Linked DNA regions of Homo sapiens: all the other regions are linked to region 5. The links are contacts of gene promoters, found by promoter capture Hi-C in blood cells and fetal thymus (Javierre and others, 2016). All regions are on one chromosome and are shown on one strand. Each heading gives the region's core, a stretch centred on a gene start or on the middle of the fragment in contact. The rest is flanking DNA. Distances are from core to core; before and after follow the strand shown.

Region 1 (5,502 bases), core at 1,513-4,012, 190 kb after region 5:
AATCACCAGGTGTCATGTGTTCAGCAGCTCTTAGGTCTCAAACTCTTGTTGCCTCTAGGACCTCATCTGACCCTCACATCTGGGACCTCATCTGACCCTTATATCTGGACACAGCATTGGTTTGGAAGATGGCAGATGTTGTTCTACCAAAAGCAGACTGTGGCCTGGGTCGGGCTCATATCTATAGGGTCTAGATCACAATGCCTGCTTCACAAGCTTGTTACAGATGAGCAAACACTTGTCCAGCCATGACATAGGAGGAAGACCAAGACACAATTCCTGTCCTCCAGGAATTCCAGGCTCTGGGCTAAGGTGCTTCCCTATTCTAAGCCATTGGCACCTTTCCTCTGCCAGAGACTCTCTCCACATTCTCCTTTAGGTATCAGCTTAAGTGTCACTACCACCGGGAAGCCTTCCCTACCACTACTCCTCGCCAATCCCCCCACCAACCAGCTGGATTAGATCCCCTGCTCAATGCTCCTGCTGCATCTCCTGTTTCTCCATCATCATAACCAGTACACCTATAATTCAATGTTGGCTTGTATTCCCCCCTTGACTGTCAGCATCAGGAAGTCGAGGACAGTCTCAAGTACTGCTGGAGACACTGAACACAGTGCCTGGCACAGAAGAGGTACTTAAGGAAGATCCACAGAACCAAATGAATTAGTTTGGGGGGAGATGATACTATGGTTTGAATGTGTCCCCTTAAAAATTCAGATGTTGAAACTTAATGGCCAGTGTGATGGTATTAAGAAGTGAGGTCTGTAAGAGCAATTAGGTATGAGGGCTCCTGCCCTCATGAATTGGATTAAGGCCCTTATAAAGAGGCTTCACAGCATTTGGCTCTCTTGTCCTTCTGCCTCCTGCCATGTGAGGACACAGCATTCCCCGCTCCATAGGATGCAGCAACAAGACGCCATCCTGGAAGCAGAGAGCAACTGTCACAGACAACTGAACCTGCCAGTACCTTGCTCTTGGACGTCTCAGCCTCCAGACTGTGAGAAATAAATTCCTGTTCTTTATAAATCACTCAGTCTCGGATATTTTGCTATAGCAACACACAATGGACAGATGGGTGAAATAGTTGGAACACAGAGGATTTTTAGGGAAGTGAAAGCACCGTATGGTGTTTACATATCATCATACACTTGTCCAAGCCCATAGAATGTACAACACCAAAAGGGAGCCCTAATGTAAACTATGAGCTTTGGGTGATGACGTGGCAATGTAGGTTCACCGACTGTAACAACTATACCATTCGGTGGAGGATGTTGACAATGGGGGAGCGATATAAGTGTGGGGGCAGCAGATATATGGGAAATCTCTGTGCCTCCTGCTGTTTTGCTGTTGATATGGTTTATCTGTGTCCCCACCCAAATCTCAGGTTGAATTGTAATCCCCAGTGTTGGAGATGGGGCCTGGTGAGAGGTGATTGGATCATTGGGGTGGTTTCTCATGAATGGTTTAGCACCCTGTCCCTGGTACTATTCTCATGATACAGTTCTCATGAGACCTGGTTGTTTAAAAGTGTGCAGCACCTCCCAGCCTCTCTCTCTTGCTCCGGCTCCAGCCGTATAAAACGTTCAAGACAGTTCTGCTTCCCCTTCGCCTTTCTCCACAATCTAAAATTTCCCAGAGCCTCCCCGGAAGCCAGGCAAAAGCCTCTATGCTTCCGGTACAGCCTGTCGAACCATGAGCCAGTTAGACCTCTTTTCTTTATAAAGCACCCAGTCTCAGGGATTTCTTTATAGCAATGCGAGCACAGACTGATACAGCTATGAACCTAAATTTTCTTCAAATAAAGTCTTTAATTAAAAAAAAAAGCAGCTAGGCATGGAGATGTGGGCCTGTAACCCCACTACTCAAGAGGCTGAGGTGGGAGGATTCCCTGAGTCCAAGGGTTCGAGGCTGCAGTGAGCTGGGTCATACCACCTCACTCCAGCCTGGGTGACAGAGCAAGACTCCATCTCATATTTTTTTTTAAAAAAAAGAAAATAAATAAATGAAGTAAAGTGGCATTATCTGTATCTTTACAGATGAGAAACCAGATGTCCAAAGAAGCGATGAGGGTTAGCAAGGCCACAGCAGGTTGACTGGCAAGGCTGGGACTAGTGCACCGCATTCCGAACCCAGCCAACGCTCTCTTAAAAGAGGGAACTACTGCTGTGTGTCTATGACCGTAGAACAGGAGGAGAAACAGGAGAAATGGAAGGAGGGTGCTTAATGGATCCAAATCCCCTAATGTTCTCCATTCTCCTCCCCGCCACCATCTTGTCAGAGTGTCCTCCCTAACACCGTGAAGACTGTTTCTTAGCAAAACTCAGAAGTGCTGCAAGGTTGACACCAGGCCATGGCACAACCCCCAGGCCCTACCCAAAGAGCTGTCCTGGCATCTGTGAGGCCCGGGTGTTTGTCAATGAGCTGCAGGATCCACAGACAGTTCAAGGTCTTTGGAGAAGGTATGAAACTCAATGCATATTCACGGCACACTTGGTGACGACTCCTGGTTTTATGTACAGTGAAAACATATTACAGAATTATCCTACGGTAGATTTATTGGAGGTGGGAAGTAACTGAGTTTTATGAAAAATAATTATTGCCATCAAGTTGATATAATTACTTGCACTGGTTTGTCAGGGCTGCTATCCAATTTTATTTCTAGGCAATTTTTCTGATATGGTTTAAGCTACACCCAGAGAGGATAATCAGTCTGTTTTAATTTATTTCCGGGATGTCTCTCTGCCGCCTCTGCTGGGCCTGGAGGGGGCCGTGCTGTGTAGCCAGCTCTGGATGTTGTCAGCGGCCTGGAAGGCAGGGCTGGCCTGCGAACCCTTGCACTTCTGCTTGGAGAAGGGAGTAGATATGGATGATTATTGTCAGATTCCTGCCATGGTTGTTCTTCTCTTGAATACATTACTGTTCTTTGAGATGCAGGGTCTAAGGGAGAAATTGATTATAAAGATTTTGCAAGGAAACATAAGGGTAACAATAGAAAGAAAATAAGTCCTAGCATTACATAGACCTATGTTCTACTCCTGGTTCCACCCCTTATTATCTGAGTGACTTTAACTTACTGGGCCTTAGTTTCTGTTTCTGTAAAGACGGGCCCATCTAACTTGGAGAGCCACTGAGAGAAGTATAGAGTGTAACATACGCCCGCCAGCTCAGAGTCCGGCACCAGCTGGCATACAATCAAATGTTATTAGGAGGTGGAGCATGGGGTTGGGATAGGTTAACCTCCATAAGTGCCAGAGCTGGAGGGAGCTCTGGGGAGCAGGATGCCTGGTGTCTTACAGCCCCCAAAAGGGAGCAGCTGGGGGAGTCCTGAGCTCACAGTTGCCACATTCTGTCACATGGCCAATCCCTTCTGGACACAGCTGAGAGAGTTGTGGTGGGCACCTGACCCGAAGGCAGCTGAGCTGTAGGCTGGGCAACTGTTCTATGAGATGGCTTAGCCGAAAAGGTTAAGCCCAAACCAGAAAGATGGATGTTTCCAAGCCAATCAGATTATCTCTCTCTCTCTGAATGGTCCATGAGAGACAGAAGCAAGCAGGCATCCAAGGAGAAGTGCACGCACATGCACACACACACACACACACACACACACACACACAGAAGGAACCTAGCTCCATCTATAGTAACATGAGTACTAGAGCTAAGGACAGCAAGCCCCTGCAGCTGCCACAGGTGTACACTGAACCCACAAAGGGCACCTTGGACTCTGAATGTCCTTCCAGGTGCAGAACTATATGTAAGTCTCTGTTTCTTGAGGCAGAAAGCTAACAGAGCACAAACATGCCTAGAGAAATGCCCCACTAACCAGAAGATCACGCTGGACCTCAGAGAAGCCCAGGGTCACTCACTAAACTAGTGATATAGCTGAGGCTGGAAACCAGGCCACCTGACTCTTAGTTTTTGAGAAGAGCCAAATTTGGGTTCCTCCTAGAGCTGGTAGTCATGGTTTTGTAGGGAAGGGGTGAAATGCAGGGTGAGTCAAGGAGTTTCAAACACAATCATTCTTGACACGAGATCCAGTTGCTCCAAGATACCACTTTTTTTTTTTTTTGAGACAGAGTCTCGTTCTGTTACCCAGGCTGGAGTGCAATGGCGCGATCTCAGCTCACTGCAACCTCCACTTCCCAGGTTCAAGCGACTCTCCTGCCTCAGCCTCCCAAGTAGCTGGAACTACAGGCATGAACCACCATGCCCAGATAATTTTTGTATTTTTAGTAGAGACGGGGTTTCACCATGTTGGCCAGGCTGGCCTCGAACTCCTGACCCTCATGATCCACCTGCCTCAGCCTCCCAAAGTGCTGGGATTATAGGCGTGAGCCACTGCACCCGGCCCAATATGCCACTTTTGCTAGAGTGTGTCTTCCTCTCCTCACCTACTGTTTGCAGTGGATTTTTTCCTGGCAGACCATCCTGGGTCACACTGACTTCACCCTTTCATGATAGCTCACACCATGGGCTGTGTGGACATTGGATAGCAGTTTGTTAGTGACACCCACACACTGTTCCAGATGCGGTTTATGAGAGCGTGTGTGTGGCTGTGCTTGTGTGTGGATGTGGGTACCCCGGGCCTACTCAGAAAATCCATAAGGTTCTGTGGCACTGGGAGCCTGTCGCGTGCTTCCTTTCTCTACTGTAGTGAGTGCTTAGACTTCAGCTAAGAACTCTGGTACCCACAAGACCTCCCAGGCATTCCACGGCAACTCTCATCCTCCCTCGGGGTAATTTCAAACCTTTGTAAGTCTCTTAGGAGCCCTGTCTGCCAGCCACTTCCTGCCTTCCTCTCAATGAATGACCCTAATTTTGTATCATTAGAAGACAGAGGCCTTTCATGGAAACAACTACACTTTCTACCCACAGCCATAGGTTTAGTCACCTTATTAGTATCTAGACAAAGAGTATCTAGCTCTTTCCTTCTCTTCTATTTCCATGCGAGAAATACCGCAGTGCTGTGGATCCTGTCCCTTCCTTTATTCTTTCCTTCAATGAACAGTCTTAAAGGCCTAAGATGCCAGGAGCTATTTCCAAATTCTTGACAGACATTGATCTTTGGGATTTTGGCATAAAAAAATAGGAATTTCTGGGAATTCTCCAGAATTACCAAAATTATAAGTTATTTAAAAAAGATTCTCCAACATTCTTCATGCTCTTTCTTCATTACTATGGATATCTAAAAATTTTTATTTAACAAATAAGAAGAAATATTAAGTTTGGTAGCCTTTGTAAAATATTTGTATTTGGTAATATTTATAAAGCATTTACACTTTGGTAGTAGGTGTAAAAAACTAAAGCTTCCTGGAAATATTCAAATGCTGGAAATCACCAGTGAACCTCACTGGGTAGTATTGACTAATGTAACATCTGATTTCCTCGCAAGGTTAACAGGGCCTCTCAGAATCATCTGTGGGAATTGCCAATTCAAAGACTTTCTTTGTTTCCAAAACTTGTTCTTTCTCTGAATACCATTCATAGAATTTGCATAATGTTTAC
Region 2 (5,237 bases), core at 828-3,327, 150 kb before region 5:
GAAGGTTCTGGGGGAGGGTTCTCTGAGCAGAGTAGACAGTGCATAGGCCCTGGGGTGTTCAGGTGTCTGGCATGGGTGTAGGAATGAAAGACTCCTAGTCCGTTAGCAGATTTTTCTTCGCTTCTGGAAATGCGCCTTCACATTCTTGGTGCAGGTTAATTGGAAAACAATGTTTTGTTTTGTTTTCCCAGAAAGTCATTTTTCCTCCAGTTCTTGTTGGAATTGCTGACAAGCCTTGGGGAGAGATCAATAGGTAGTGTAGCTCTGCCCATCCATCACTCAATCATCTGTCTGTTGCTCCAGGAAAACTTCCTTTAAGGAAACACGTTTGATACAATTTCAGACATGAAAATCAGGACACAGAATAGCTGTGCCCTAATTTAAATCCTGTGGGGCCCATAGTGGGGTCTATTGTGTCCCCAACCACCAGCCTCAGAGCCTGTCATTTTGTTTGCTTGTCCTCCAAGTGTATGGATACCAGACATCACAGGGCACCTGCCCTTGCTTCAAGAAGGTGTGAACAGCTCCTCCTTGGGAATGTGCCAAGTAGGTGTCGGTCCTGAAAGACCCGCCCTGCTTCTTCAGGTCGGCCTTGGTGTTCTGCCAGGCTTGACGAGGCCTGAGAGTGGGAGAGTGGGAGAGGCCATTTCCAATTGGGAGGCAGATGTCTTTACTTAGTGACTTTTCTGATACATTAAGACCTCTTCCGTTCAGAATTGTGTTTGATCTACCTATAGGTTTGGAGCGTTTTAGTGACTCTTTTTTTTATTTGAGATGGAGTCTTGCTCTGTTGCCCAGGCAGGAGTGCAGTGGCACAATCTCAGCTCACTGCAACCTCCGCCTCCCAGGTTCAAGCGATCCTCCTGCCTCAGTCCCCCAGTTTATGGTTCCTTCAGGAGGTGGATTCAGCATTGGCAGGGGCACCAGGATTGCTGGACTTGGGTAGAGTGTGCCTGAGCTTTGTGCCACCACCTTCCCTCCAATAGCTGTGCTGGGGGATGGTCTCTGGCGGCGCATGGGGAGGAGATGGGTGAACCCTTGGCCTCCGGCCGACCTGTGGCGTTGCTGTCTGTGGCCAGAGGAGTGGCTGTTCTTCAAACAGGCCTTGGGATTTCCGGGAAACCTGGCATCTTTCCGTGCGTGGGGCCAGCCCTTGCCACGTGCCTTCTTGGCTCAGGAGTGTGGCTGCGACCTGACTCCCAGTGGGGCCGGCCAAGTGATAAAATTAGTTTTCTCCACCAAATGGAGCTAAAGGCTTGGCCTGAGTTTATGTCCCCAGGGAGTGTTTAGAGGAGCGGTGGCCTGGCTCTCAGGCATCTCAGTGCCAGCGAGCACAGGGCTGGGTGGCAAAGACGCCTGCTTCTGCCTGGCACCAGGCTCTGCCATGACTGATGGATGCTTCAGCCTCCCTGCATCACAAGTGTTGAGTTTGCTGTGCATGGTAGAATATGAGGCAAGCTTCACCTCTTTCCCCTCCTCCCTACACTGTCCCTTTCGAAAGAGTTGAGCCTTTCCAAGGTCTTTTATATCACACAGCACTTTCTCGGTTACATATTTTAGTTTGAACAACAAAGTACTGTTTGAGGACACCTTTGCCTGAAAAGAAAGCTCAGTCATTACTGAATTTAGATGCAGAAGTAATTAAAAATAAAAGTAGGCAGAGAAATTTAACACAGATTTAATCATTTCTGGGGCAGGATATTCCTGGGGTGGGATATTCCTGAAGGTTAGTGAATGGCTACAAATATATGATTATAGGCCGGTGAAGAACCCTACTTTGAGAAATGTCATTAGGTGATTAAAAACAACACCCAACTGCCCTCATGATACGAACATGGGTTCTTGTGGGTTGGGGTGACATTTCTGATGCCAACATTCTACATAAATTCACAGGGAACCGTATCCAACACATCCTAAACAGCTGGTGAGGAGGACGTGCTCTGGGTGGCTCAGCTTGACTCTGGGCTTCATAAAGGCATTGCTGTTGATGCACACGAAGGGTTTGAAGAGAAATTATTTTGTAAGCTGGGTGTGGGAAATAGTATTTTATAGTCAACAGGATTTTTAAGTATGTGTATGTAAACAAATTAATAAAACCTACAAATCGTGATCAGACTTTTTTGTCTACATTCCTAAAAATCATATATTCCAGGTTGGCATTAACTATTGTTTTGTGTCTTCTCATTGGCTAATTGCCTTCAGTATGGAAGTCATCTTATATTCCTGGTTTCCCAGGTTGTATGTTCTTCTTGCAGCTCTCGAGGTGGGGGACTTGAAAGGGAGGAGGGGAGGTCGAAGGGGTGGCCTTTTCTCTCCCCCATCCCTCTCATTTCCTCTCTTCACTCTTGCTTTGCTGCCCCCTGCCGCACTGCCAGGCATCAGCCCCTGGTCTGGGCAAAGGACCCCAGAGTATGACAGGTGCCAGCCCATCCTTGGGAAGGTTAGTTTGCAAACCTGTTTTAGTCTTTGGGAGGCCTGGGTATTTTGATTCACACTTGCAGGGTCTGTGATTTGCCTCTTGCTGCATAAAGTCTATTCCATGAAGCATACTCATTTATCTTTAAGCAGATTTATTATATGAAATATTCATGGGTGCAGGCTTGGCAGCACAGCGTCTGGAACAATGTACTGAGTACAGTTTGTCCTCAGAAGTCTATTCATGCTGATGGGATGCAGTTGTCTCCTGTGAAGCTTTGGGGTGAGATGGGGCCAGTAGGGAGTGAGCTGGCTGAGGATAGCTCTTCATCTCCCTTAGTTTGGCTGCAGCAGCCCTGCTCTGCGTGTATGCCTGCGCAGATCCGTTCTTTCTCTTCCTGCTTAGTGAACACAGAGGCCTTCCCTTCTGCGAGAACCCTCTTGTCAGCTTCCAGCTTCCTGTGTAATTCGAACGGATAGGGATGATTTGGAGGGAGGGAAAAGCTGGCTTAGGAGTGAAAACTGATCTGTGGGGAGAAGGCATTTCGGGGACTGGGAGGAGGTTTGGTGCTAACACTTAGGAGTAAGCACAGTGTGGCAACCCCCGGGCTCAATGTGTGTTCCACATGGCCCTGACAGACACCACAGGAAGCATGTGGTGACAGTCCTGTATTACCCACGAAGAAACTGGGGCTCAGAGAGGTTTAGTTACTTGCCCAAAGTGCAGTTCACTTAGTTTAGCAAACCTGTATGGATGTATGGGTGGCCTGTCATGTGGCCAGTGGCTGGATACAGGGCACAGAGCAGTCACGGCCTCTGCCTACGAGGAGTGCCCCATGCAGCCGATAGAGAAACAGAGCCCTGAAAAGTGAGTCAGACAGGGTGAGTGGAGCCCCCATGCGATGCAGGGTGTTAGGAAGGGCCTGGTGAATTGTGGGAGGCTGTGGGAAGGCTGGAGGGGAGGATTGGAAAACTGGATAGGATCTTACCAGGCAGATGGGGGCTGGGAGAGGTAATTACAGACGGTGGGAAGAGCAAGTACAGGCATGCAAGGATGTAGGTCATCCAGGTGTGGCCAGTAGACGGGAGACTGCCTGGTTCAGTGCTGCCCAGTCACACGAGGCGGGGAGGTCGGGGGACGGGGCCAGAACCACTATTGCAGCGGCTTAGAGGCCTTGCTAGAGGATTCGGACTGTAACTAAGGGAGCGACGAGTCGTCGGAGGTCTTGAAGCCAGGGAGAGAGAAAAACGAATTTCTCTATTTGGAAAACAATTCTGGAGGTATAACAGAATGGGGCAGTGGGGAAGGTAGGAGGTAGGGAAACCTGTCAGAGAGGTCGCAGGGGCAGGGGTGAGAGGAAGCGGAGGGGTGTGGGAATGAGAAACATAATTTGAGATTTCTGTTGGAAAATAGCAGGAACTGGTCTGGATTCTGTGTCTGGAAAAAAGTATTAAAAACAAACAAACAACAAACAAACCAGTAGCCAGAAAAGGATAAAGGAAACGGTACCTTAGAAGAGAAGCATGAAGACATTTTTAAAAAGGCTTTTATAATGAGGCAGAAGATTTAAAGTGTTACATAAAACAAGTTTTAGGGAATGAGGAGGACCAATGTGGCATAAAAGGTTTTTATGGTTAGGCTGGAGGTGGAGCAAGGTGGCCAAACAGAAGCCTCCACCAACCATCCTCCTCACAAGAACACCAAATTTGACAACGATCTACACCAAAAAAGCACCTTCGTGGGCACTAAAAATCAGGTGAGCGATCACAGTACCTGGTTTTAACTTCATATTACCGAAAGAAGCACTGCAGAGGGTAGGAAAGACAGTCTTGATCACTGACTCCATCCCTGTGGCGGTGGCCACATGGTGCTCAGAGAGAACCTGTGTGACGGGGAAAGGAGAGTGCAGCAGTTGTGGGACTTTGCATTGGAACTCATTGCTGCCAGCAGTGGGTAGAACTCAGCCGATGCCCACGGAGGGAGCATTTAGACCAGCCTAGACAGAGGAGAATCACCCATCTCAGCAGTCAGAACTTGAGTTCCAGCAAGCCTTGTTACCATAGGTTAAAGTGTTCTGGGTTCTAAATAAACCAGGCCACAAGGACTGCAACACCCAGGTGAGTCCTAGTGCTGTGCTGGGCTCAGAGCCAGTGGACTTGGGGGTTACATGACCTAATGAGACACCAGCCAGGGTGGCTCAGGGAGCACTTGCATCCCCTATCCCCCAAACCCAGGCAGCGCAGCTCACAGCTCCAAAAGAGACCCCCTCCTTCTGTTAGAGGAGAGGAGAGTAAAGAGGACTTTGTCATGCAACTTGGGTACCAGCTCAGTCACGGTAGGATAAGGCACCAGGCAGAGTCATGAGGCCCCCATTCCATGCCCTAGATCTTAGATGACATTTCTAGACACCCTGGGCCAGAAGGGAGCCTACTGCCCTGAAGGGAAGGACCCAGTAATGGCAGGAATCATCACCTGCTGACGAAAGAGCCCCTGGACCCTGAATAATCAGCAGTGGTAACCAGGTAGTACATACCATGGGCCTTGGGTGAGACTCTGAGACCTGCTGGCTTCAGATGGGATCCAGCACATTCACAGCTGTGGTGGTTAACGAGGAGAGACTCCTTCTGCTTGAGTAAAGGAGAGGGAAGAATAAAGGGGACTGTGTCTCGCAGCTTAGATACCAGCTCAGACATAGGGGGAGCACCAACTGGGCCCTTGGGGTCCCCAGTTCCAGGCCTTGGCTCTGGGATAGCATTTCTGGACCTACCCCAGGCCAGAGGGGAGCTCACTGCCCTGAAGAGAGTCCCAGGACTGGCAGCAT
Region 3 (5,589 bases), core at 438-2,937, 140 kb after region 5:
CCCAGGGGACACAGGGGTCCCGCAAACAGCTCACCAGCAACTGAAGCAATAGGGAGAGTTGGAAGTTCTTGAAGTGAGGAAGGAAAGTCGAATTTAGCAGGAGGAGGTAATAATGGCTCATCTTGATTGAGTGTTCACTACGGGCTCTGCTGTTTTCTCTTTTCTTTCTTTCTTTCTTTCTTTCTTTCTTTCCTTCTTTCTTCCTTCCTTTCTTTCTTTACTTTCCTCCCTTCCTTCTTTCTTTCCTTCCTTCCTTCCTTCTTTCTCTTTCTTTCCTTCCTTTATTCCTTCCTTCTCTCTTTCTCTCTTTCCTTCCTTCCTTCCTTCCTTCCTCACTCCCTCCCTCCCTCCCTTCCTTCCTTCTCTCTTTCTCTCTTTCTTTTTTGTTTTTGACAGAGTCTTGCTCTGTCACCCAGGCTGGAGTGCAGTGGTGTGATCTTGTCTCACTGCAACCTCTGCCTCCTGGGTTCAAGCAATTCTCCTGCCTCAGCCTCCCAGGTAGCTGGGATTACAGGTAAGTGCCACCACGCCCAGCTAATTTTTGCATTTTTAGTAATGTTGGCCAGGATGATCTCGATCTCCTGACCTTGTGGTCCACCCGCCTCGGCCTCCCACAGTGCTGGGATTCAGGCGTGAGCCACCGCGCCCGGCCTGCTAAGTGTTTTCTATGCATGATTTTGTTTCATCACATACAACCCTTTGCGGGAAGTGATGTTATTATTATCACCACATCTATCTATAGATGGAGAATCTGATGCTCAGAGAACTGAAATAACTTCCCCAAGCCACAGGCAGCTGCCCAGTGGTCAGCAGAGTTTCTGGACCTGACGGCCTAATGCCAAAGCCCAGGTGACTAACCGCCGTGCGACGCTGCCTCTATGAGGCACCAGGCCAGCGTCAAAGCCTGGATGTCTCCCGCAGCCTTGCTCCGGATTATGTCCTCTAGTGGGGTGTTTATTTCTGCAGGGGGTGGGGAGGCAAACGTGTGCAATGCGTGTTTATTTTTCTATTTGTGCTAAAATAGTAAAGATTTCCGTTTCTGGAAAGCACACTTGACTAGAATTGTTTGAGGGAGGTGGACTCTTGACCCCTGCATCCAGAACCCTGGGGTGGATCTCAACTCCAGGCTGAGCACCTGGGTGGGACGGCTCTCCACAGAACCAGCCTTGGAAGCCAAGTCAATCAAGTGGCAGCAGACTTCTGCAGACGCGAGGAACTCACCATCACACACGCATTTCACAATCTCAAAAATGATCTTTTAAGATTTTTAGATATTTTTCTCTTGACACACGAGGGTGCCTCTCTGGAACTGGGAACAACGTAGAGACTCAGAGCCATTCCTTCACAGCTAGCAGGAAGGAAGGCTGCTGTTCTTTCGTTTCTTTTTCTTTTCCTTTCTTTTTTCTTTTCTTTCCTTTTCTTTTTTTTTTTTTTTTAGATGGAGTTTCGCTCTTGTTGCCCAGGCTGGAGTGCAGTGGCATGATCTCGGCTCACTGCAACCTCTGCCTCCCCGGTTTAAGTGATTCTCCTGCCTCAGCCTCCCGAGTAGCTGGGACTACAGGCACCCGCCACCACACCTGGCTAATTTTTGTATTTTTAGTAAAGACAGGGTTTCACTGTGTTGGCCAGGATGGTTTCGATCTCTTGACTTCGTGATCTGCCCGCCTTGGCCTCCCAAAGTGCTGGGATTACAGGTGTGAGCCGCCGTGCGTGGCCTCTACCTTTTTTTAAAATTGTTACTTGGAGAATGTCATTAGGGAAGGTGCGTGCCAGATTTTCTCACTCAGTGTTTGAATGTTTTTTCTTAAGCCCATACAACTCCAATCATAACTTTTATTAAAATGCAAGCCAGGTGCCGACATGCGTGGTTCTCTGCCCTGACACACGGCAGGCCTGGCTGAGTCCTGGTGAAGACGCCCAAAATAAACCTGTCTGTGTCAGTGGGGACTTGCCAACTGCCGTGACATTCAACCCTGAAGTCTCAGGGGCTTCATTCAGTGCACGCTGCTGCCTCAGACCCTGTCCAGGACAGGTTGCGGGAGGGTGCTGCTGTGCACACCCACTCAGGACCCAGTCTCCTTCCCTGGCGTGGTCTCCCTGTCTTCCAGAGCCTCGGAGCCTCCTCCTGGATTTTCTGCAGCAGCGTGACAGGCAGGGAAGCAGCAACCGTGACAGGTGTCACGGGTGGTTTGAAAGCGTCCAGGCTGGAAGTGGAGTATGTGGCCTACCTAGATGTGAAGGCTGAATTTTGTCCCCTTCAATTCACATGTTAAAAATCCTAACCCTCAGTACCTCAGAATGTGGCTGCATAGAGAGCAGAGCCATTTGAAGAGGCAGTTAAGTTAGAATGAGGCTGTTAGGGTGGGCCCTTATCCAATCTTATTGGTGTCCTTATAAGAAGAGGAAATTTGGCACACAGAGTGGCTCAATGGACTTGCACACAGAAGGTAGTCATCTACAAGCCAAGGAGGGGGGTCTCAGAAGAAACCAAACCTGCTGACACCTTGATCTTGGACTTCCAGCTTCCAGAGCTGTGAGGAAATAAATGCCTGTTGTTTAAGGGACGCAGTCTGTGGTGTTTTGTTGTGGCAGCCCTAGAAAACGGATGCACGTGGTAGCAGGATGAACCCAGGGTAGGAGCCTTCCTTAGCAGTCTCTGCCACAGCCTGTCATTGGCTTTCCTCCCAGGGGAGGATAAGCAAAGTCCCATCCAGTCCCTGTATCTAGCTCCAAATTTAGGAACTTTGGGTTGTTGGGATGTTCAAAACCCTTTAAACCCAGTCTCCTGGCTTCGTTGGCAACACAGTTCTCTCAACAACTTAGGAGGCTTCTAATCTATTTGTGTCCCATCAATTCTCACAGCTCTGGAGGCTGGAAGTCCAAGATCAATGTCTCAGCAGGTTTGGTTTCTTTTTTGTTATTGTTTTTGTTTTTGAGACAGAGTTTCGCTCTGGTTGCCCAGGCTGGAGTGCAATGGCGCAATCTCAGCTCACTGCAACCTCCGCCTCCCAGGTTCAAGTGATTCTCCTGTCTCAGCCTCCCGAGTAGCTGGGAATACAGGCATCTGCCACCACACCCAGCTAATTTTTGTATTTTTAGTAGAGGTGGGGTTTCTCCATGTTGGCCAGGCTGGTCTCGAACTCCTGACCTCAGGTGATCTGCCCAACTCAGCCTCCCAAGGTGCTGGGATTACAGGTGTGAGCCACCGTGTCCAACCTGCTTTGGTTTCTTCTGAGATCCCCCTCCTTGGCCTGTAGATGGCTGCCTCTGTGTACAAGTTCATTGAGCCACTCTGTGTGCCAAATTTCCTCTTCTTATAAGGATACCAGTCAGATTGAATAACATGCTATTAATTATACCCCTATTTTTTTTCCGAGTCATAATTCTCAATGCTGCCTTCTTTCTGTTTGCTTCCTCATGCCATTCTTTCTTAACATAATGATGGCTATGTTGAGGCTATCAGACTTGGGTAGAAAGGTACAATCCATGAGTTGATGTTTGCCTCAGAGGTGATTCACTGTGTTTAGTGAGAAGAAAGATTCATTGGGTCTTCTTTGTTCAAAACCTTTTAAAATTCAGACACTGAACAGTGTCTGAGAGAGAAACTTTCATTGTACTAAACACAGGGGATTGTTACAACAGTTAGCAGATCTCCACTAATACGAGATTAATTTTATCTGGGGAGGTAGAAAAATAAGGCCCAAAGAGGAAAGAGTTTTCTAGAAGAGGTCATTTTTTTTCCCCATTGCTGCGTGTCCCGAATTTCTGATTCTCTCCATTCTGTTTCATTTCTTCTTGTGAATTGAGCAGTTCTTTTCTGAGCTCATTGTTTTTCTTGTAATATCTTGCCGAATGCAGCAACAACAAGCAAAACAGCATAATATTCTTGTTTACTCGTTTCCTTCCGCCTCTCCTAGAGCATGTGTTTTTTACTTCCAGGTTATAATAGGCAATAGTTTTTACCAAATGTTTTGTCTGTCTGAGTATAACATGGATCTCCAGTTACCTAACCCGCTACATCTCTTTCCTTTTTGCTCAGCCTTTGTATTTTAGTTTTTGTCATGGAAGTACCCCACTTCAAGAAATGAATTATTATATTAGTCAAAAAATACTAATTGCTGAAACGAACAGCTGCCAAATCTCAGTGGAACGTAACAATTAATACAAAATAAACATTTTATCCTCCTCATGTCACAGTGCAATGTTGATTGACTCGAGTGGAAGTGACAGAAGTGAGAGCTCTGCTCCATGTTGTCACTCAGGGATCCATTGTTCCATTAATTCAGGGATTTAACAGGTGAATTATCTTTTAAGATTTTTAGATATTTTTCTCTTGACACACAAGTTCCATTGTGTGGCTTGGGTACCTGGTAGGGCACTGAACCTTTTCGCTGGATTCAGATAACTGGTTGGCAGGTGAGGAAAAAGAGATCACGAAGAAGCTTGTGGAAGTTCTTAGGACAAACCTGCAAGGGTGTGTCCATTGACAAGAACTATTCACATAGCCCCACTAGATGCAAGAGCTCTTGGAAAGTCAGTCTACTAGTATCCCAACAAGAAAAGGAGACACAGATATTGGTGTACAAGAGCATCCTCTGAATATCCCCTCCTTCCTCCGTGCTGTGGATGCTATGGACACAGTGGTGCATCTCCCAATTCTCCCTTTAACGAAGCACTTATTGCCCCAGCTGTAGGCAGGGCTCATTGTTGACAGCCTTCAACTGTCAGCCCCTTCAGGAATCATCTTAGCTGCAAAGAGCTACCTTGCCCAAGGCTGCATCATCCTTCCTGGAATGGCCCTCATCCAATGACTGATCAAGGTGGGAGTATAAATGTCTAGTCATTTTGACCCCAAACAGGACAAGTCTGATATGGAGTATTTTAGTTCCAGGCCCTTGTAGGACTGGCCAATTCTGTTGTTGGGTTTGCTTTGCAGCTGGACTTTCCCCTCTGCCCAATCTGGCTTTCCCCTCCTCTCCAAAGATATTCCCAAGAGCACTGCCTAAGAAACATTCTGCAGGCCGGGTGTGGTGGCTCATGCTTATAATCCCAGCACTTTGGAAGGCCAAGGCAGGAGGATAGCTTAAGCCCAGAAGTTCAAGACCAACCTGGGCAACATAGTGAGGCCTTGTCTCTACCAAAAAAAATTAATAATAATTTTAAAAGAAATTTTAAAAAGAGAAACATCCTGTGCACTAAACCTCAATCTCAGAGCCCATTTCCTTGGAGAGCCTAACCTGCAACAATGGGTAAATACTATAAGCCCTATCAATGGGTAAATACTATAAACCTGTCAGGGTTCTTTGAACTTTTCTGTTGTTCTCTGCTGTGGTCCAACACCTGTAATGATGCCTGACACACAGTATGTACTTGCTAAAATACATTTTAAGGCCAGGCTTGGTGGTTCATGCCTGTAATCCTAGCACTTTGGGAGGCTGAGGTGGGAGGATCACTTGCGCTCGGGAGTTTGAGACCAACTTGGGCAACATAGACCTCATCTCTTTAAAAAAAAATAAAAAAATTAAATTAAATACATTTTAAGATGAATGTCTATTTAATTGTACATGTATACTTGTCATTCTCCTTTGC
Region 4 (5,375 bases), core at 825-3,324, 160 kb after region 5:
GACTGAAATGTACTTATAGTTGTATGGCGCTTGACTGTATTTCCATGAAATTTTGGACTCTACCAATGTTTATTTGTTGGATAACTATGGAAGAGTGAAATGGCACTTTGGCCATTTTGATATGTGTGAAATTGCCATCTCAAAAAGCTGCACTAGTTCAAATGCACACTAAGAGTCTCTGCCTCTGAAGTCTGCTTCCCCACGCCGTTGTCAACACAAAGTGATATCAGAGTTTTCCATCTTTGCTGATCAGAAAGATGAAAATGGTGTTGGCTTGTTTAGTTCGTATTTCTTTAGTTAGGAGTGAGCTCGAACATCTTTTCACGTGTTGATTGGTCATTTGTTTGGACTTCTATTCATGTCCTTTGCCCGTGTTTTCTTCCATTGTTATTAGACTGTAAGAACCACTGACCTCTTCGTTTGATGTGCTAAAGTTTGATGTGTTCATGTCAACACCCTCCTCCCAGCTCCCCTCTTCACAGCACCGATGATGTCTGCGGGCCTGAAATTCAAATAGACAGGGGGAGCTCTTTAGGGTCCCTTACTCACACACTGCCTTTGAGGCTTGAAATTCTATGACCCAGAGAATTCAGCATTCCCGATCGTTTCTGGTTCTGCAGGAAAACAGGCCAACAGGAGATTTTGCTTGTTGTTCAGTGCCTCAGCCTGACCAACAGGATGGTGACAAGGACAGGGGTGTGTCCCGTTGTCCTGATTCAACTTCAGTCTTAGGCAGGCCTTGTGTGTCTCTTGATTTGGAGGTTGGAGCTTTCTCAGTAATCCTGCCCCTCTTCCCTGTGGCGGCCAAACTGCCGTGTATTTCAGGCTGTTCTTGTGCCCAAGAGAGTTTTCTGCCCCCTCCCCACCACCCACCCAACAGAAGACCTCTAATCAGCTGGATCCAGCCAGGGTGGTCTCTGCCCCTCCTCAGAGGTTGAAGTTTTCATCTTTACTCCTTCTCCTACTTACAGTGAGTGTTCTTGGGACAGCAAGCTTTGCCCTTTCCCTACTGGCTTAAGGCCTCAGGGGAGAAGATCCTGGACAAGGCTTTATGCTTTTGCCTGCAGCATCAGTGCTCCTATCTGCAGGACTGCACCTCTCAGGGTGGCTTTCTCCTGTTCTCTCTCCTGTCCAATCTTTCTTGAGAGCATGGGGTGGAGGTTTCTGGAGAAGTCTGTATGTGAGAGCCCCTCTTGTGTCTGCAGTCTCAGAGTCTGCAACCCCCTGCCAGCCCACACTTCATATTTAGTGATTCTTTAAGGTTCAGGTAGAACTTTAAAGAATCTTCTGGAATGTAGAGCTGTGGCTACAAAGCAGCTTTAGTTTCTCTGTTAGGGACTGTTTTTCCCAGCCTCCCTTGCAGCTAGGTGAAAGACTAGTTTTCACGAATAAGATAATAATAGAACTGCTGTCTTTCACTAATATGTTGTGATGATTAAGAAGTGTGCCTTTTCTGTGGCCTCTTTTGTGATTCACCAGCTGAATGAGAGGACTCTGAGGTCCTAGCAGAGGGAAGAATTCAAGACAGACAAAGCCAATCACAGAAGGCTGCCCAGAAATGTCTGCCTTGGACTCTGCCATGATGGGAAATAAATGTCTATTGTGTTAGGCCACTGAAATTTTGAAGTTTTTATCACAGGAGTTAGACTACCCTGACTCACTGAAAGACGGGTTGGCAAAGAAACATCAGTCTTTGATAATGTTAGCCGTCTCTGCCACAGTCTTGGAGAGATTGGGTAGACAAGGATGTTGATCACTTGGTTCCAGAAAGGATTAAGTCTTGAAAAGACCCCATGGAATACTTTACAACCATCCTCAGCGAGGGGATATTTGGAGTGTGCCCTTGGGTGATTTAGAGTGTGAGGTGGGGGAGACTTGAGGTGTGAGCAAGAGGATATTGGAGCTGTGAGCTCGGGAGATTTGGGAGTGTGAGCTGACCGTTTCCTACATTTAGGCAGGGGCATAGGCTGAGGCTTATTTTGCCATATTAAATGCAAATTCTTCCATCTACCTCTTAAGGGTCTTCATAATCTTGCCCCAACATACTTTCCTAGCCTTCCTGCGCTGTTCCTCTGCCTGTCCCCCAGGCTGGGGGTACATAGTGTCCTATCACCCTCCTTGAGAGCAGATCAGTTTCCATTCACTCACTTCCTCATCCATTCCTTTACTACAGAGGAGCACAAAAATGAATCCGTTAAGGCCCTACCCTCAGAAGTTCCAGTGCTTATGTGCAATGACCTTTTCAGAATATGCCTTTGCTGGGAACTGGAAATGCTGATACCAGAAGGCCTCCTTCCTTGGGGAAATATGCCTTTACTGCCCTGCCTTTCTCTGAGTCAATACTTACTGCAGACACTCTAGGCTGGTTCTGCTGTCTACACAAGAGTCCCTTCCACAGATTTCCCGGCAGCAGTCACCTGGGGTACACTAGAGGTAGGCCAAGGTCAGGGGGTTCACTGCTCCCTGGGGCATCCAGCTAAAATGTTCTTCCTTGTATGGAACTAAATCCTGTTTCCCTTTTGTTCCTACTTTGGCCCTCTGGGGTTAAGGTACAAATCTGCCTCATTGTCCCCAAGGGAGATCTTCAGAGATTCATCGGGTCTTTTCTTTAGAAAGACGTCCATTAGACACCACTGTCTTGCTCTGGGACCCTGCTCACCTTGGTTTTATTCAGTTCATCACAGAGGTCCTCCAGGTCACGCTCCCCATTCCTGGCATCCTCACTTGCATCTGTGTGGACTCTGCTTCTCAGGTCACTGACCACATGCCAAGGAATGGCAAAGCACTAAGTTAAAACACGGTCTGCTTTGACGTGCTCCAGCCAACACTGTGTAGGAGGAAACTGGGAAGGCTGTCCTGGTAGACAGGCACTTTGTCCTCTCACTCTGGAAAACTTTAAGGAAGATCTTGCATACATTTGGGCATATTCAGAGACGGGCTTGTAAAAGGTTAAAGTGAGTTTTTTAGAAGTTATCAATTTGCTTTTCTCCCTTTGGACATTCTCCAAATGACACTCTTTTTGGAAAAAAATTTAAATAGTCTGAAACTCCATGAAATACACTTTAAAGCTGTAGTGGGCAGTAAAAATGTGGCATCTGTTTAACTGATTGCAATTTCTACTGGAAGGATCTGTGAGCAGCATTTTTAAAAGCTTTTTCTTTGCCTTTGGTTTCTCTTTGTGTCCCATTTGAGTAATTTCCTCTGACATCCTTCTGTCCCTGGGCCTAGAAGCCTGGTAAATAAGCTGGCCCCAGAGAGATCCAGGAGCCAGCAATATCCTGGAAACCTTAGGCCACGAGGTTAAGCACAAAACCGCTCTCTTTCCAGGAAGGAATGATTGAATCAGAGTAACGACCTTGGCTTTCAATTAGTCCTTGTCCAGCTTTTCCCACTGTTTTCCTCTCTGCTGCCTGCCCACCATGCCCCAAGCTGTGGAGGAGCTGGACCTGCTCCAGCTCTCCTGACCCTGGGACGCTGCACAAGTGTATCCTGTCATTGGTGTGTGCCTCAAGACTTCATGGGCCTACAAAGCTGAGCTGAGTCAAGCTTCCTCCCCAACTCCGAGAAGAATGCCTGTCAGGAAGCTCAAATATTTAGAGAATGTGAAATACAGGATTTTAATGGAAGCATTTTTCACCTCCTCTAGAAAGAGGCTATAGAGTTAGTGGTTGGTCTGTCTGCAAATTATTCTTACTCACCCTAGTGTGCCTTCCTGATTTCAACACAACAAGCTCTTGGTGCTTTTGTCTACCACAAAGAGATTTTGGCTGCAGTGATTCTCTCCACAGGTGCAGTCCAGTGGCTGTTGAAATGCAGGCACGGCTGTTAGTAAAGGGACCTGCCTCTGGATGTTCTTCTGCAATTATGGTGCCAGCCATGCTACAGGAAGACGTCAGGCAGGATGTCGAAACGTATTTCTAGATACTGTGCCTGGACTTGAGACCATGATGTTAGCAGCAGGACAGGAGAAACTCTAGTGTCTCTTTTGCTACTTGGCTCCAACACAAGTGGATAAAGTTTTCAATAATATTTTACTTTAAATTGCCATCCTTTCCATGGGAAGTGCCAAACCCTCTCCAGTCAATGCAATAGAGATGTTGCCAAAAGTAAAATTACACAATTTTTGCTTTGTCTGGTATGGTCTGTTGGATGAGTTCTCTTCTTTGCTGAAATAGATACATATTTATACATATCATAATGAAGATGCTTGAGGCTGGGCGCACTGGCTCACACATGTATTTCCAGCACTTTGAAAGGCTGAGATGAGAGGATCACTTGAGCCCAGGAGTTCAAGACCAGCTTGGGCAACACAGTGAGGCCCTGTCTCTACAAAAAAAAAAAAAAAAAAAAAAATTATCTGGGTGTGGTGGCACACGGTCATAGTCCCAGCTACTCCTCAGGCTGAGATGGGAGGATTGTTTGGGCCTGGGACATGAAGACCTGGGTGACAGAGTGAGACTCTGTCTCAAAAGAAAAAAAAATGCTCAAATTAAACATTAAAATAATGAAGTTGAGAGCATAATTCACATCTCTGGGCTACTGAGCTCCAACTACTTCACTGCTTTGGAATTTAAAAAAAAATCCTTGTGTAGCAGTATTGGCTTTTCCAGATGAAATTGGGCTGTACAAACATACTTTGAGATTGTGTGATTTCACTTAAAATGTGTGTCCTGGCTCAGAGACTTCATACAAAATCCAGTAGGTTCAGAGAAACATAATCCTTACTCTTGGATCACTTTAGAAAAAAAGAGTTCAGCCTTATGTGAAGCCAGAACAAAAATTTTTTTAGAGCCAAAGCCTTCCGTGTGGTGTTTGAGCCCGACTATTACTTCGTTGAGTGGGAATAATGGCGGCGGAAGGGAGAAGCCACGTGACTAAAGCAAAGTTCACGGTGTGACCGCTAGGGGATGGATCCGAAAAGTTCACGGCGTGACCGCTAGGGGATGGATCCGAAAAGTTCACGGTGTGACCGCTAGGGGATGGATCTGAGTCACACGGCACCAAAGTATCTTCGCAGCAGCGACTCTGTACTGGCCTGCAGCAACCTCAATTCTTGCCTCCCTGGAAGAAAAAATTTGACTAAGGGACATAAGACAGAATGAGAGACCAAGGCAAGTTTTAGAGCAGAAGTGAAAGTGCATTCAAAAGCTTTGGGGCAGGAATGAAAGGAAGTACAGTACACTTGGAAGAGGTCCAGGAGGGTGACTTGAGAGATCAAGTGCACAGTTTGACCTTTGACTCGGGGTTTTATATGTTGGCACACTTCCGGGTGGTCGCAACCCATCTCCCCTGATGCTTCCCTTGGGGTGGGCTGCCCACAAACATAGTGGCTTGCCAGCACTTGGGAAGGCCGCATGCGCAGTGTTTACTGAGGT
Region 5 (5,916 bases), core at 995-3,494:
TTTCAGTCAAGATTCTCATTTTTTTAAACCCATGGAAGAAAATTATCCTCTATGGAAACCAAGCTTTACAAAGCTTGTCTCTATGTTCTGATTTTAATTGCCAGTTGAAAGGAAAGCTCAGCCTTGCTTGTTAAATAACTGTGTAAATATTACCAGGGCACTGAGAAGGCCTGAGGAGGAGAAGGAATGGTTTCCTTGCACATCTGTGCCTGAGAAATGAAGACTCAGACTCACTTCTGAAGAAACGAGTTCAACTTCAGATGGGAGGTTGAACTCCATTTTCCCGAAGGCCGAGGAAATGTATGCGTGTGTGTGTGTGTATCGTGTGTGTTTGTCAGCATGTGCGTCTGTTACGTACACGTGTGCGTATGTGCATGTGTATTATGTAAGTGCACATGGGCATGGTCGTGTATATATACGTGTGTGTGTTGGGGACGCACTGGGAACAGAGCATGGTGTCTGCGTCACATGTTGTTTCTCCGCACCTGGAGGCCTCTGAGTGCTGTGTCTGCGCCACTGTCACCAGCCTCCCCGTCTGGCCACACAGATCCTCCTGCTGTGCATGGGCTGCAGCCATGCTAGAGGGACCCTCCAATCTCCCCTAGGTGGCCCCAGGCTTAGCAGGTACTCTATAAAAGTATGTTGAGACAGTGTACTTTTCTGCTTAAGGTCAAAGGGCTTTGCTTTTGTCTGTGTGTGGAGAGCCGTGGCGGCTGGGAGAAGGCTGGGTGGGTGTCCATAAACGCGTGCTAAGGATGGAGCCATCCATCAACCTTATTTCTCCTCTTGCCTTTGCTTAGACCATAGCGTGGACACTGCTATATATTACATATTGAATTGGGTTCCCGGAGCCTCTGGCCTCTCCCCGGAAACAAGTAAGACCTTCTCTGAAGCTGCTTGAGTTCCTGTGGGCTGGAAACAGGGCAGGGAAAGAGAGGTTTGCTAACTGGTTCCTTCCCAGCCAGATGTGGTTAACGTGGCCTCTGAAAGCACCTTACTCATCCCTGTTGAGCTGCTGACCTGCAGCTCCACATGTACCCACTCTGATTCACTGAGACTCACTCCCCCTCCAGTGAAGGCTGCCCCACCCGCAGATCAGGGGACCGCACGTGTTAGGGCCTTACCTAGGGTTCCCTGGCCACTGCCGCCTGCAGGCCCTCGCTTTGTTGTGGCTCTTCCCAAGAGTCATCAGGCGCTGTTGCTCACGCATAAGCACACAGGTGACAAAGTCCCCTGAAGAATTGCCCACCAGTGTGACCTGAACGACCCCTTTCCCCAACACCACACATGAGCACTCAAACTGGATGTGGAGGCCCGGCTGTAAGAGTGCCCATCTGCAAGGCTCAGCTCTAGGAGCTGTCCCCCTGCCTTCCCTGACCATATGGGGCACAGGTTCTGTGCTGGCCCCAGTCCCAGATGGTGGAAGGCAAGGAAGGAGAACCCACATCACCCACCTGCCGTGCACCGGGGGGTTCGCGTATGACTTTGTTTAATGCCCTGGCAGAGTCTTCTGAGGCATTACACTCACCACCGCCACAGGGAGAAGACTGGAGCAAGAGGAAGAGAATTTGCATTTGCGAGTGCACGCTGCGTTCCCGCGACAGCCAGACACTGCATTACCTCATGCAGCCCTCACGGCAGTCTCATGAGATGTAATGCTTAGTTCTGGTGGAGCTGGGGCCAGAACACACTTTCCCTGACTCAGAGTCCTCACTCTTACCTCCACCTTCTCACTACTCAAAAGTGTGGCCTGCAGACCAGTAGCGTTGGTATCACCTGGGGGCTTGTCAGCGATGCGGAATCCCAGTCTGCATTTTAACCAGATCCCGGACACACATTTCCCCCGCACAGTAAGGTCTGGGAAGCACTGCCCTGCATCTAGTAACTCTTATGTGAGAGAACCCTGGGAGGGGAGGTGGAGGCCAGTGGGGTTAGCTGAGAAAACCTTCTGGAGGGCCAGTGGCAGAGCTGAGCCACAGAACAGGTGCGTGGTGGAGCAGAGGCAGCATTTGCTAATCAGAATGGCATCTGCGATGCCTTCGCAGGCTGTGTGGAGAGGGGAAGGTGCGGCCTTGTGGCCCCTTGTCTGTGTGGAAGGGCAGGCGACTCTGTGGGGGAAGGGTGGCGTGGAGACGGGAAGCGTGATTACCCACACAGGCCTCGAGCACCCGCATCCAGGGACCACGGCCGCCAGGAGGGGCTGGACTCTCTCAGGAGAAGCGTGCGTCTGGGAATCCCCGCTGAGGGGGCTTGTGAATGTGGGATCGAAGCGCTTAGATCTTGGCTTCCGGAGGTCTCCGCGGGTGTCCAGCTTTGTACAGGGTGTGGGGATGAGTCTGCCGACCGGACTCCCATGTCAGCTTTGTGTCTGGACAGAACAAGGGGCGAGGAAGCCTGGTCGGGCCACTCTGGGCCTGCATGCGTGTGGGCAGGTGTCTGTTGGTCTTGGGCAAAGGGCGAGGTGACACTGAGGGCGTGAGGGAGGAGGCCCCAAGAGAGCAGGGAAGCGTGGAAGATGCCAGCTGGCCTGGGGGCGTGGATGTGGGTTTCAGCAGAGTGCAGACAGGCAGTGGGGCGTGGGGCCTCCTTGGGGCCTCGCTGGGCTGTGTCGGGTGCTTGCTTTCTTTTCTCCTTTGCCTCCTTCCAAGGTGCGTCCACAGCCAGCGTTTCTTTATGCTTTTCCCTCAGTCTGAGACCTAGGAACAGGAGAGGCCAGTGCTGTGAATTTCATGTTTCATGGCCTCCCCAGCAAGCCAGCCCACGAAATTCCACACAGGGAGGAGGAAGAGGAGGAGGAGGAGGAGGAGCTGCCACTGTCCCCGAGGGGAGCAGCTGACACTCTCCCCTTGACTGCACCAGGCCTTGGGGGTATGGCGCCTCCACGGACGTGGGCTGGGGGAGGATAGGCTCCTAATTAGTTTGGATGCGCTTGGAGTCAGGGCACCTTTTCCCCAGTGGGCAGTTCTGCACCCTGAACAGCTGTGGGGAGAAGGGCAGCGGGAGGACGGCCAGATAATTCCAGAAGAAAGGCTCCAGGAGTGGCAGCAGAACTGCTGTTATTTTCGGAGGAGTCTAATTACTTTCCCCAGGTAATGGCTTGAAGTAGCATCTAATTTTATTTATTTATTTATTTATTTATTTTTATTTTTTTATTATACTTTAAGTTCTAGGGTACATGTGCACATTGTGCAGGTTAGTTACATATGTATACATGTGCCATGCTGGTGCGCTGCACCCACTAACTCGTCATCTAGCATTAGGTATATCCCCCAATGCTATCCCTCCCCCCTCCCACCACCCCACAACAGTCCCCAGAGTGTGATATTCCCCTTCCTGTGTCCATGTGATCTCACTGTTCAATTCCCACCTATGAGTGAGAATATGCGGTGTTTGGTTTTTTGTACTTGCGATAGTTTACTGAGAATGATGATTTCCAATTTCATCCATGTCCCTACAAAGGACAGTAACTCATCATTTTTTATGGCTGCATAGTATTCCATGGTGTATATGTGCCACATTTTCTTAATCCAGTCTATCATTGTTGGACATTTGGGTTGGTTCCAAGTCTTTGCTATTGTGAATAATGCCACAATAAACATACGTGTGCATGTGTCTTTATAGCAGCATGATTTATAGTCCTTTGGGTATATACCCAGTAATGGGATGGCTGGGTCAAATGGTATTTCCAGTTCTAGATCCCTGAGGAATCGCCACACTGACTTCCACAATGGTTGAACTAGTTTACAGTCCCACCAACAGTGTAAAAGTGTTCCTATTTCTCCACATCCTCTCCAGCACCTGTTGTTTCCTGACTTTTTAATGATTGCCATTCTAACTGGTGTGAGATGGTATCTCACTGTGGTTTTGATTTGCATTTCTCTGATGGCCAGTGATGATGAGCATTTTTTCATGTGGTTTTTGGCTGCATAAATGTCTTCTTTTGAGAAGTATCTGTTCATGTCCTTCGCCCACTTTTTGATGGGGTTGTTTGTTTTTTTCTTGTAAATTTGTTTGAGTTCATTGTAGATTCTGGATATTAGCCCTCTGTCGGATGAGTTGGTTGCGAAAATTTTCTCCCATTCTGTAGGTTGCCTGTTCACTCTGATGGTAGTTTCTTTTGCTGTGCAGAAGCTCTTTAGTTTAATTAGATCCCATTTGTCAATTTTGTCTTTTGTTGCCATTGCTTTTGGTGTTTTAGACATGAAGTCCTTGCCCATGCCTATGTCCTGAATGGTAATGCCTAGGTTTTCTTCTAGGGTTTTTATGGTTTTAGGTCTAACGTTTAAGTCTTTAATCCATCTTGAATTGATTTTTGTATAAGGTGTAAGGAAGGGATCCAGTTTCAGCTTTCTACATATGGCTAGCCAGTTTTCCCAGCACCATTTATTAAATAGGGAATCCGTTCCCCATTACTTGTTTTTGTCAGGTTTGTCAAAGATCAGATAGTTGTAGACATGCGGCGTTATTTCTGAGGGCTCTGTTCTGTTCCGTTGGCCTATATCTCTGTTTTGGTACCAGTACCATGCTGTTTTGGTTACTGTAGCCTTGTAATATAGTTTGAAGTCAGGTAGTGTGATGCCTCCAGCTTTGTTCTTTTGGCTTAGGATTGACTTGGCGATGCGGGCTCTTTTTTGGTTCCAGATGAACTTTAAAGTAGTTTTTTCCAATTCTGTGAAGAAAGTCATTGGTAGCTTGATGGGGATGGCATTGAATCTGTAAATTACCTTGGGCAGTATGGCCATTTTCACGATATTGATTCTTCCTACCCATGAGCATGGCATGTTCTTCCATTTGTTTGTATCCTCTTTTATTTCCTTGAGCAGAGGTTTGTAGTTCTCCTTGAAGAGGTCCTTCACATCCCTTGTAAGTTGGATTCCTAGGTATTTTATTCTCTTTGAAGCAATTGTGAATGGGAGTTCACTCATGATTTGGCTCTCTGTTTGTCTGTTGTTGGTGTATAAGAATGCTTGTGATTTTTGTACATTGATTTTGTATCCTGAGACTTTGCTGAAGTTGCTTATCAGCTTAAGGAGATTTTGGGCTGAGACAATGGGGTTTTCTAGATATACAATCATGTCGTCTGCAAACAGGGACAATTTGACTTCCTCTTTTCCTAATTGAATACCCTTTATTTCCTTCTCCTGCCTAATTGCCCTGGCCAGAACTTCCAACACTATGTTGAATAGGAGTGGTGAGAGAGGGCATCCCTGTCTTGTGCCAGTTTTCAAAGGGAATGCTTCCAGTTTTTGCCCATTCAGTATGATATTGGCTGTGGGTTTGTCATAGATAGCTCTTATTATTTTGAAATACATCCCATCAATACCTAATTTATTGAGAGTTTTTAGCATGAAGGGTTGTTGAATTTTGTCAAAGGCTTTTTCTGCATCTATTGAGATAATCATGTGGTTTTTGTCTTTGGCTCTGTTTACCTGCTGGATTACATTTATTGATTTGCGTATATTGAACCAGCCTTGCATCCCAGGGATGAAGCCCACTTGATCATGGTGAATAAGCTTTTTGATGTGCTGCTGGATTCGTTTTGCCAGTATTTTATTGAGGATTTTTGCATCAATGTTCATCAAGGATATTGGTCTAAAATTCTCTTTTTTTGTTGTGTCTCTGCCTGGCTTTGGTATCAGAATGATGCTGGCCTCATAAAATGAGTTAGGGAGGATTCCCTCTTTTTCTATTGATTGAAATAGTTTCAGAAGGAATGGTACCAGTTCCTCCTTGTACCTCTGGTAGAATTCGGCTGTGAATCCATCTGGTGCTGGACTCTTTTTGATTGGTAAGCTATTGATTATTGCCACAATTTCAGCTCCTGTTATTGGTCTATTCAGAGATTCAACTTCTTCCTGGTTTAGTCTTGGGAGAGTGTATACGTCGAGGAATTTATCCATTTCTTCTAGGTTTTCT

The links. Contacts are between HindIII fragments. The CHiCAGO score rates a contact against its expected background, and 5 or more counts as called.
Region 1: a contact is called between a fragment that was not itself captured here and the fragment with the promoter of XXYLT1-AS1 in region 5, in 1 of 17 cell types (monocytes). The highest score is 5.2, in monocytes.
Region 2: a fragment that was not itself captured here is called in contact with the fragment with the promoter of XXYLT1-AS1 in region 5 in 1 of 17 cell types (megakaryocytes); the score reaches 5.5 in megakaryocytes.
Region 3: a contact is called between a fragment that was not itself captured here and the fragment with the promoter of XXYLT1-AS1 in region 5, in 1 of 17 cell types (neutrophils). The highest score is 6.8, in neutrophils.
Region 4: a contact is called between a fragment that was not itself captured here and the fragment with the promoter of XXYLT1-AS1 in region 5, in 1 of 17 cell types (endothelial precursors). The highest score is 6.8, in endothelial precursors.

Annotation. Positions count from the first base shown.
Region 1 is chr3:194,906,447-194,911,948 of GRCh38, reverse strand. No RefSeq gene overlaps it. Among named protein-coding and RNA genes, the nearest start is that of LINC01972, 140 kb to the right of the region's middle. The HindIII fragment of the contact is 5,087 bases long and covers 219-5,305 here.
Region 2 is chr3:195,236,460-195,241,696 of GRCh38, reverse strand. The region is part of intron 1 of XXYLT1 (xyloside xylosyltransferase 1); the gene reads left to right. Among named protein-coding and RNA genes, the nearest start is that of XXYLT1, 32 kb to the left of the region's middle. RefSeq lists an enhancer at 1,093-1,655. The HindIII fragment of the contact is 1,233 bases long and covers 1,461-2,693 here.
Region 3 is chr3:194,946,755-194,952,343 of GRCh38, reverse strand. No RefSeq gene overlaps it. Among named protein-coding and RNA genes, the nearest start is that of XXYLT1-AS1, 150 kb to the left of the region's middle. The HindIII fragment of the contact is 5,514 bases long and covers 1-4,444 here.
Region 4 is chr3:194,929,009-194,934,383 of GRCh38, reverse strand. No RefSeq gene overlaps it. Among named protein-coding and RNA genes, the nearest start is that of XXYLT1-AS1, 160 kb to the left of the region's middle. The HindIII fragment of the contact is 2,158 bases long and covers 996-3,153 here.
Region 5 is chr3:195,090,916-195,096,831 of GRCh38, reverse strand. XXYLT1-AS1 (XXYLT1 antisense RNA 1) reads right to left here and starts at 2,244. Exons shown (of 4, transcript NR_104188.1): 1 at 2,154-2,244; 2 at 1,455-1,547; 3 at 1,125-1,233; 4 at 775-912. The region is part of intron 3 of XXYLT1 (xyloside xylosyltransferase 1); the gene reads left to right. RefSeq lists enhancers at 660-1,859, 2,324-2,373, 2,444-2,613, 2,734-2,803. The HindIII fragment of the contact is 5,440 bases long and covers 76-5,515 here.